Regions from separate parts of the Homo sapiens genome. Here region 1 is linked to region 2. Evidence: promoter capture Hi-C in 16 types of primary human blood cells and fetal thymus (Javierre and others, 2016). All regions are on one chromosome and are shown on one strand. Each heading gives the region's core, a stretch centred on a gene start or on the middle of the fragment in contact. The rest is flanking DNA. Distances are from core to core; before and after follow the strand shown.

What was found. Contacts are between HindIII fragments. The CHiCAGO score rates a contact against its expected background, and 5 or more counts as called.
Region 1: a contact is called between a fragment that was not itself captured here and the fragment with the promoter of ERLEC1 in region 2, in 1 of 17 cell types (total B cells). The highest score is 6.6, in total B cells.

Annotation. Positions count from the first base shown.
Region 1 is chr2:55,265,647-55,270,899 of GRCh38, forward strand. MTIF2 (mitochondrial translational initiation factor 2) reads right to left here and starts at 3,585. Exons shown (of 16, transcript NM_002453.3): 1 at 3,523-3,585; 2 at 2,932-3,093; 3 at 1,923-1,989. RefSeq lists enhancers at 3,528-3,677, 3,623-4,446. The HindIII fragment of the contact is 171 bases long and covers 2,985-3,155 here.
Region 2 is chr2:53,784,910-53,790,114 of GRCh38, forward strand. ERLEC1 (endoplasmic reticulum lectin 1) reads left to right here and starts at 2,135. Exons shown (of 14, transcript NM_015701.5): 1 at 2,135-2,463. The coding sequence starts at 2,302. ASB3 (ankyrin repeat and SOCS box containing 3) reads right to left here and starts at 2,044. Exons shown (of 10, transcript NM_016115.5): 1 at 1,912-2,044. All of the region lies in intron 1 of GPR75-ASB3 (GPR75-ASB3 readthrough), which reads right to left. RefSeq lists enhancers at 1,534-2,192, 1,708-2,127. The HindIII fragment of the contact is 9,655 bases long and covers 1-5,205 here.

The DNA of each region.
Region 1 (5,253 bases), core at 1,820-4,319, 1.5 Mb after region 2:
TAATATATATATTTTCAACTCTTTTCTTTGTGCTTTTATCTATTTTACTCACAAAAATAAGGTCATATTAATTTTGTTTTACAACTTTTTACACTAAAGAATACATTGTGAATATTATTTTATATCATTAAACATTACTAATCAGCCCTTTGTATCCATGTGTTCCACATTTGTGGATTCAAACAATTGTGGATCGAAAATTTTTTTAATTTTTTAAAAAGATGGTTCTGTCTCTACTGAATATGTACACCTTTTTCCTTGTCATTATTCCCTAAAGTATACTGTTTACATAGTATTTGCTTTGTATTAGGTATCATAAGTAATCTAGAGATGACATGAAGTATACAATGGTATGTGCTTAGGTTACATGTAAATATACGCCATTTTATATAAGGAACTTGGACATCTGTAAATTTTGGCATGCGGCAGCGGGGGTCCTGGAACCAATGCCCCATAGATACTGAGAGACACATATATTCTTCAGCATTACAAAAAAAAAAGAATGGAAATTATGAACTATTTCAATGCGTTTACCTTAACCATATAAAGCTATCTTGAACAAAATTATAAACTTTTACAAAGCCTTAAAATTTTTGGCCAGGCGCAGTGGCTCATGCCTGTAATCTCAGCACTGTGGGAGGCCAAGGCAGGCAGATCATTTGAGGTCAGGAGTTCGACGCCAGCCTGACCGACATGGTGAAACCCCGTCTCTATTAAAAATACAAAAAAATTACCTGGGCGTGGTGGCACATGCCTGTAGTCCCAGCTACTTGGGAGGCTGAGGCAGGAGAATTTCTTGAACCCGGGAGACAGAGGTTGCAGTGAGCCAAGATCACGCCACTGCACTCCAGCCGGGGAGACAGAGCGAGACTCTGTCTCAAAAAAAAAAAAAATTTTTTTTTAATGATTTATCTCATAATATGGCATTTCTACAATATGCTTATATTTTATATTTATATACAACATATATATTATATAAATATATTTATATTTTCTACTAGATAGTCTTTAAAATTGTTCACAAATGATAATAGTTATTTGATGTGACCAAAGAAATTAAGGCTCTGGACGGGTGATCTTTGCTAGATAACTAGGCATTAAATGCTACATTTCATTCTTTTTTTTTTTTTTTTTTTTTTCAGATGGAGTCTCGCTCTGTTGCCCAGGGTGGAGTTCAGTGGTGTGATCTCAGCCCACTGCAACCTCTGCCTCCTGGGTTCAAGCAATTTTCTCCAGCCTTAGCCTCCCAAGTAGCTTGAACTACAGGTGTGTGCCACCGTGTCAGGCTAATTTTTGTATTTTTAGTAGACACCGGGTTTTACCATGTTGGCCAGGCTAGTCTCAAACTCCTGACCTCAGGTGATCCACCTGTCTCAGCCTCCCAAAGTGCTGGGATTACAGGCGTGAGCCACCACGCCTAGCCTAAATGTTACATTTCAACCAATCTTCCCAAAGTGTATTTTATGGTTCTGACATAGTAAATGTATGGTTCTGACATGGTAAATAGAATATACTGAATTTTTTTTTTTGAGATGGAGTTTTGCTCATCGCTCAGGCTGGAGTGCAATGGCGTGATCTTGGCTCACTACAACCTCCACCTGCTGGGTTCAGGGGATTCTCCTGCCTCAGCCTCCCAAGTCGCTGGGATTACAGGTGCCTGCCAGCACACCCGGCTAATTATTTTGTATTTTTAGTAGAGACGGGGTTTCACCGTGTTGGCCAGGCTGGTCTTGAACTCCTGACCTCAGGTGATCTATCCGCCTTGGCCTCCCAAAGTGCTGGGATTACAGGCGTGAGCCACCGCGCCTGGCCTATACTGAATATTTTTTAAAAGAAAGAAAAGAAATGATAACAGAAACAAGTACAGTATAGCAAAGAAAGTATCTTATTAGGCAACAAAGGAACCTTAGGTGGACACTCACTCTGACAGTCAGTGTTATCTGGACTCAGCAAGTCACTTGTTTCCTATGGGCCTCATTTTCCGGATCTCTGTTAAAAATAAATAAATAAATAAGTGTTTGAATATCTGTCCTTCCTATTACAAGACTAAGAGGAGAAAATGAGATGATGTATATACTTTATCATCAGCTATTTTAAAACCATATCACATGTCTTGATACTCGCTTATAAGCTTTGAGGATTCATTGCTTATAAGTTAAAAATATTCACAAGTCATTAACTTGTTTACCTTCGGACAATTATGAGGTTGTGTATGTGTGTGTAATCGAGCAAGCATTTTACCTTAAAAGGCTTATTCGAGTAAAGATCAAGGAAAAATCTAACTTAATGCCAACGAAATAAACACATTAAGATTTAGAAATTCAGGCTGGGCGTGATGGCTCATGCCTGTAATCCTAGCACTTTGGGAGGTCGAGGCGGGCGGATCACCTGAGGTCAGGAGTTCGAGACCAGCCTGGCCAACATGGTGAAACCCCCTCTCTACTAAAAGTACAAAAATTAGCCGGGTACGGTGGCGGGCGCCTGTAATCCCAGCGACTTGGGAGGCTGAGGCAGGAGAATCGCTTGAACCCAGGAGGCAGAGACTGCAGTGAGCCGAGATCAGGCCACTGCACTCCAGCCTGGGCGACAGTGAGACTCTGTCTAAAGAAAAAAAAAAGAAGATTTGGAAATTCATTCAATAGTATTTACACACATTAAATACTTCTAAGAATGGCACATGGAAAATATCTTATTTACGTTTGTGCCCCTGGACCAAGAAGTAGAGTGCTCAGGTAACACAGGATTCCTTGAGAAAATAATTTTTAAATCAGTATGAAACCAGATTTGAGAAGAGCACAGATTAATGGAGTGGGAGGAAGGACCCTACGAGATATTAACCAAAGCACAGATATGTAATTGAGGCAGGAACTGGAAAGACACATTGGAGGCAATAACCCAAATGTCAAAACTGGAAGGAAACTTGTCACTTACTCCAAGCTCCTCATTTTACAGAAAAGGAAACGGAAATCCAGAAGGGTCAAAAAAGCTTCTCCAATGTCATACCGCTAGTTAATGGCAGTCAAGACTAGAACCCAGACGTTCTGACTCCCAGTACGGTGTTGTTTCGCCGCTAGGATATCCTTGTCAAGGAATCTGAAAAAAGTATGTTGCAAATACGTAGTTGCGTTAGGGAAAACGTCTGAATGTGAGCTGGAAGCTTTGGAACTTACCAGAAAGGTAAAAATAAATCACTGCAGAAAAATTACGGATCTGGGGTGGCTCGCCTCAAATTGGAGCCCAGAAGGCCTTGGGCCCATGGGAGGCTGGGAAGTGAGGACCTGCACCCACAGCCGCGCGCGAGGAGGGGAAGCCGGCCAGCCGCTTCCGAGAGAACAGTGCACATGCCTTCGTGAATGCCTAACGTGGGCTCACGCAGGGATTAAATGCATCTTGGAAAGGCTTCCGAACGCACAATGTTTATGAAGTTCGCGTGATTTGTGCCACTGACACGTTAGGCGAAACAACACACACCACCTGCACCGGACAACCCTGGTTAAGGGATCCTACCCACTTAACTCCTACCTACAGCCCCGGGCCCCTGGATTCTGAGCACGGGCGGAGATCACCTTCTGGACCCGGAAGAATGGTCGGTAGGTCAGTCCGTCCCCGCTACGGTCCCCGCCGGGCTTCCGGTCCCGCTGGAAAAGGTTCTTTCCGGAATTCAGAGAGTTGCTGTCGCCGCTGGGGGTGGGACTGTCTGCGGTGTCCGCGGCGGGCGTCCAGCCTGGGAGGCGCTGGTTCAACCTGTGGCTCCTCCCAGGGTCAGCCGCGCGTGGTGAATCGTTTCTGCAGGTCCCTTCCATTTCTTACTTTCCTTTCCTTTCTTTCTCTCTTTCCTTTTTTTCTTTCTGTCCCTCTCCTTTCTTTCCTTCCTTCCTTTCTTCATTTCTTCCTTCCTTTCCTCTTCCTTCCTTTCCGTTTTTCTTTCTCTTTTTTTTTTTTTTAAGAAAACTGCCTTTATTCAATTAGAAGTTGGAAAAATTAACTGGTACAGAAAAAAAGTGTAATCAGCTGGAGAAAAAGTGCCACCCATGAGAACTGATGGCTCCTCTGGGAGGGAATCTGGATACAGTGAGGATTTCTAGGAAGCAAATTACTTCTTCTCTGGGGCTATGAGAGGCCTCGGTGGTGCTTAACACTGTAGGAAACGTTAAATGGAGAATTGTGGGAGAAATGATACCTCCTTCAAAGATACGTGTTCCTAACAAGAAGGAAAAAACAAATGCAAGCGAACAGTGGCGGTAGAACCAGTTAGTATTGTGCGAACAGTACTTTCTGTTTTCTCCTAAGTCAGCTCGTGTGTATGGCATTAGGAGTAATAGAGCCAGAGTGCCTGGTTTCCTATCCCAGCTCATTCCTAGTGTGTGGTTGGGAATGTTTTGTCAACTGTCCATGTCCCAGTTTGTTCATCTACATTATAGTAATGACAGTAGCTAGTTCACAGGATTGTAATAAGGTTTTTGTTGTGTTTTTGTTTCTATTTGTTTTTGAGATGGAGTTTCGCTCTTGTTGCCCAGGCCGGAGTGCAATGGCACGATCTCAGCTCACCGCAACCTCTGCCTCCCGGGTTCAAGCGATTCTCCTGCCTCAGCCTCCCGAGTAGCTGGGATTACAGGCATGTGCCACCACTCCTGGCTAATTTTGTGTTTCTTGTAGAGACAGGGTTTTTCCATGTTGGTCAGGCTGGTCTCGAATTCCCTATTTCAGATGATCCGCCCACATCGGCCTCCCAAAGTGCTGGGATGACAGGCGTTAGCCACCTCTCCCAGACTGTTTTTTGTTTTTTTTGAGACAGTGTCACTCTGTCGCCCAAGCTGGAGCACAATGGCGCGATCTCGGCTCATTGCAACCAAACTCCGCTTCCTGGGTTCAAGTGATTCTCCCGCCTCAGCCTCCCGCGTAGCTGAGATTACAGGGGCACATCACCATGCCTCACTAATTCACCATGTTGGCCAAGCTGGTCTCGAACTCCTGACCTCAGGTGACTGCCCACCTAAGCCTCCCAAAGTGCTGGGATTACAGGCATGAGCCACCACGCCCGGCTGCAATAAGCTTTTAATGGGTTGATAAACTGTTGATAAGTAGTGCCTGGTTCATAGTATGTGTTTGCTGTTATGGTTATTACTGCCTGCCCCCAGAGCTTTCCCTCATCTTGCTTGGACATTATGACTTTCAGCTGGTCGTTTTGACCACAACCATCACCACCTCTCAAATATAAATATTGTTTTATTATCTCTGTCTTTTGGTAAAAGG
Region 2 (5,205 bases), core at 885-3,384:
CCACAATGATCTTCACAAATGTACATCGGGTCCTGTCCACTCTCCTGCCTACAGAGCTGTCTCCCTGGCCTCTTTCTGCTTCTCAAACTTCTTCTACCACTTTCCTCTTACACTCCAGCCACACTGGCCTTCTTTCTATCACTCCAACACATCAAGCTCATTCCTGCCTCAGGGCCTCTGCCTAGAAATTTGTCTGGCTCCCTTCTTTTCATCATTCAAGTCACAATTCAAATGTCACTTCCTCACAGAAGTCTCCTCTGACTTACGTACTAAAAGCAACACATCCTACAGGTATTGTCTTTCACATAACCTTAGTTTCTTTGCAGCACTTACCAATACTAGAAATTATTTTACTTATTTAAGTTCCCCTCTTACTTGAACATCAGCTCTATTGAACACAGATTCAATCACTATAGCCCTAAATGCTAAAACAGGACCTCACAGACAGTTTTCATTTTTATTCCGTCAAATACATCTCTTTTCCTTCATGACTTAAGACTAGTGCTTAGCACAGAATAAATGCTAAAAAAAAAAAAAATTGACTATTACTACTATAATAGTTTGCAATTATTTGTTTGTACAATCTCCCTGCCTAGACTGTGTGACCAAAGACAGAAACCCATTTATTTGGCATTTTACCAAGCCCAGGGGGGCCAGGCACAGTGGCTCAGGCCTGTAATCCCAGCACTTTGGAAGGCCGAGGAGGGCGGATCACCCGAGGTCAGGAGTTCGAGACCAGCCTGGCCAACGTGGTGAAACCCTGCCTCTACTAAAAATACAAAAATTAGGGTGTAGCGGCGCGCGCCTGTAATCCCAACTACTCGGAAGGCTGAGAAAAAGGAGAATCCCTTGAACTCCAGAGGCGGAGGTTGCAGTGAGCCAAGATTATGCCTCTGCACTCCAGCCTGGGTGACAGAGCGAGACTTTGTCTCAAAACAAACAACAACAACAAAAATCCCAGGAGTCTGGATCACATTAAGCATTAATAAGAAGTGCTGAATATAATTAGCGAATAACAATTCTGAAGAAAGTTATCTTCTTTGATACTATGGATTCCTGATGTTAAAAAAAAATTTTTAAGATAGAATATGGGACTGTCCTTCCTGCTTTTTGATTTGGTTCAAATCTGAGGAAGTGGGGGCGACCAGTCTTTAACAGATCTAGCAAGACTGTCGAGCTTTAGGGAATGGTAATTTCTCTAAAGCCAACACTCTATGTCCATTATATTGGAGATCAAAACAGACAATGGCATTTTTTCTAAAGAGGGGGAGGGAAAAACAAAACTTTTTGTCTAATTTGGGGATGCAGTCAGACGTGACTTAGTTCATAAACACACACATTCATCTGGCGCTAAACCTCACATAAGGAACCTTACCAGCTTCCTTGATAAAACAACACCCCAACACTTCAATCTAGAGATGGAGGGTAAAAATGTAGGGTTGTGATGTCTAGCTGCCCATTCCACGAGAGTCGCCCACCACGCCAAATTCGGAGGCTTGCGGTATTCACCTACGGGGAGATGGCGGGCTACCTCACCCCAGGTTTCCCCTAACACAGAGTTGCAGTCGCTGAACAAACTGCCCTGCGTTAGTCAGAAGCTGTTAAGTAACGAGATGGCCACGGTCCACAGCAGAAGAGATGGAGATAAGCCTCAAGCGGGAAAAATGAAGTGTACAAATGCCAAATGCGGAGAAAAAGAAGAAAAGCTGCAAGAAGGCAGGTCAGTCAGGAACACCGCCATTTCTCACATCTCATCGCTACTTCGAATTTTCTCATCTAAGGACCCGCACCCGCACGGTTCACACTGTCTTCTTCCCGCTATCACTCCGTGTGGGTCAAACCTCTGCCTGCCCACTGGAGAGCAGCGGGAATGGCTTCAGGAAGCGGCTGCCGCCTCCGAGACTCACCGACCTGCCGTGCTGCCACTTCTACACCGAAATGGCTGGTCCGAGGCCGCGTCTCCAGAGCTGCGTCCCAGAAGCCCCCGCTTTCGATCCCCACCGCGATGCTGCAGCCGTCCGAAAACGAGAGACGCGCAGGCGACGTCCCGGCCCCCGTAGGCGGACGGCTCCGCGACCCCCGGATGTTGATATGTCGTCTGCCCCGGAAACGGTGACAGGAGGCTCAAGGGGGCGGAGGCGGCGTTGCCGGGCTCTCCGGAAGGAGACGTGGCGGCGGTTGGGCCGGTGATACCCGGGCGCTTTATAGTCCCGCCGCCTCCTCCTCCACCTCCTCCTCCTCCTCCTCTCCTCCTGGAGCAGAGGAGGTTGTGGCGGTGGCTGGAGAAAGCGGCGGCGGAGGATGGAGGAAGGAGGCGGCGGCGTACGGAGTCTGGTCCCGGGCGGGCCGGTGTTACTGGTCCTCTGCGGCCTCCTGGAGGCGTCCGGCGGCGGCCGAGCCCTTCCTCAACTCAGCGATGACATCCCTTTCCGAGTCAACTGGCCCGGCACCGAGTTCTCTCTGGTCAGTGCCCTCACTAACCCCGCAGCCACCCCTCCTCCTGACACTAAGGGTTCGGCCTCTTCCCTCGGTTTTCTTTGCTTTTTCTCCCCAAGACCTTCTCTGCAGACTCTTACCTTCCCCAAGCCAAAGCTGCTTTTATGCAGCGTTCATTCATTCGTTCGTTCTCACGTTATGTGGATGCGTCCCCCTTGCTGAGCATTAGGGATCCAGCAATCACCTGCTCTCCACCTTTTCAATTCTGTCGCACTAGACCTTGCTTCCCAACATTCCCACCCTGCAGAAGCAGCTTTCGTAGAATAACGTCAGGTGCACTTACTCATCTTCCTTTCGGAAAATTAACTGTGGCTCTTACTTCACCAGCAGACTTCTTTCCTTCAGTATTACATGTCACCCTGCCCACACCACAGTACTTCAGACTCGAGTTCCCTCTCTCGTATTCGTTCTCCCTCAGTTGTATACACACACGGACATACGCAAACGCACAGCTCCAAGGGAACTTTTTCCTTTCCTAGTTGTTTCTGAGAGGGCTATTTGGCCTGTGAGATGTTAACGACCCTTTATGCAGAATATCCTTTACAGTTTTCATGTATTACGACTGTTATTTGAGTCCCCAGAACATGAGCTTCTATGTTGAGTTTTCCTGTAGTGAAGAACATTTGTAACCTCGCGGAAATGAAAATTCCCTCTTGGGGGAGTGGACCGCTGAAAAGTCTTCCTGTCCACGTGTACCTACTGCAGGCTAATAAATATTGTACTCTTATGACACTTACCATGTAGTAATTAACTCATTTACTTCAAATTGAAGTCCCGGAAAAAGCAAAATTTTTTTAAACTTTTTATTCCAATTACCTTCAAGCATTCAACTTGCAATACTTTATTATATTCTTTCATTACCATTTCATTGAAACAGTAAGTGACACTATGATGTCAAAACAAGATGTGTCAAGTTAATGGATGTTATTACCACATAGCTTTCTATTTGCAAGTGTTAGGGGTTTTTTGGTTTGGTTTGGTTTGGTTTGGGTTTTTCTGTTTTTGTTTGTTTTTTGAGACAGGGTCTCAGTCTGTTGCCCATTCTGAAGTGCAGTGGTACGGTCACCACTGGCTGCAGCCTCGACCTCCTGGGCTCAAGAGATCTCCTCAGCTTCCCAGTAGCTGGGACTATAGGGAAATCCCACCACTCCTGGCTAATTTTTTTTTTTTTTTCTAGAGGCAGGGTCTCACTATGTTGCCTAGGCTGGTCTCGAACTCCTGGGCTCAAGCAATCCTCGTGCCTGAGCCTCCCAGAATACTGGGATTACATGTGTGAACCAAATGTTCTGAATTTATCTAGGTAAATATTTTTCTGGGACGTCAAATTTCTCTTTGTATTAATGCCACAAAATATTGATACATTGAAATACCTATGTAAAATTTTGTTATGAATCAGATATAACTTTAGCAGGCTTGGAAGAGAATACTTTAATACCTGTTGTTGTATCCAAAGAGCACACTTGGAGTGAATATGGCAGATGTTTGAAGAATTATGTCATTAAAATTTTTTACTCTTGGCACCTGTGTTTTTTTTAATTTAAAAAAACTTGCTGATATGCAGCCCTGAAAACTTACTATAAGCGAGCGACTAAAACTAGCATTTTTAGAGGTCACTACCAAATTGTCATTCCATTTTCTTTCAGTCTTAGCATTTGCTACACCAACTTTTCACGTATCTAACAATTTTATTTCAAAAAAAAAATGCTTTGGCCATGTGCGGCGGCTCACATCTGTAATCCCAGCACTTTGGGAGGCAGAGGCAGGCGGATTATGAGGTCAGGAATTCAAGACAAGCCTGACCAACGTGGTGAAACCCCATCTCTACTAAAAACACAAAAATTAGCTGGGCGTGGTGGTGCACACCAGTGCTCCCAGCTACTTGGGAGGCCGAGGCAGGAGAATCGCTTAAACCCGGGAGGTGGAGGTTGCACTGAGCCAAGATTGCACCACTGCACTCCAGCCTGGGTGACAGAGTGAGACTCTGTCTCAAAAAAAAAAAAAAAAAAAAAAATTCTTTTTTTAGAAGCTGGAGTGCAGTAGGTATTTATAGGCATGATTATGCTCACTACAGCCTCAAACTCCTGGGCTCAAGCCATCCTTCTGCCTCAGCCTCCTGAACAGCGAGGACTACAGGTGGTCACCATTGCATCTGGCTTTTTTTTCTTTAAGTCTGTGCTACTTTGAGAAAAATCTAGAGTGTTCTGTGAATTGTCACAAGGCCTATGTCCTTTATGTAAAAATAAGCCACAATAGTCATTATCATTGGTCTTTTGATTTTTTTTAATACTTCTATAACCTTAAGGCTTCCCTTTGCATTTAACTGAAATTACTGGCTGGGCACAGTGGCTGACGCCTATAATCCCAACATTTTGGGAGGCCGAGCTGGGTGGATTACTTGAGCCCAGGAGTTTGAGACTAGCCTAGGCAACATGGCGAAACCTTGTCTCTACTAAAAATAAAAAAATTAGCCGGGCATGGTGGCACATGTCTGTAGTTCCAGCTACTTGGGAGGCTGAGGCAGGAGAATCGCTTGAACCTTGGAGGCAGAAGTTGCAGTGATCCGAGATCATGCCACTGCACTCCATCCTGGGCGACAGAGGAGTCTGTCTCAAAAAAAAAAAAAAAAGAAAAGAAAAGAAACCACTACTCTCCTCACCTGGCGCTGCCATTTTTTTTAATGGGCCAGTTGGTTGGACATTTGTGTTTGTG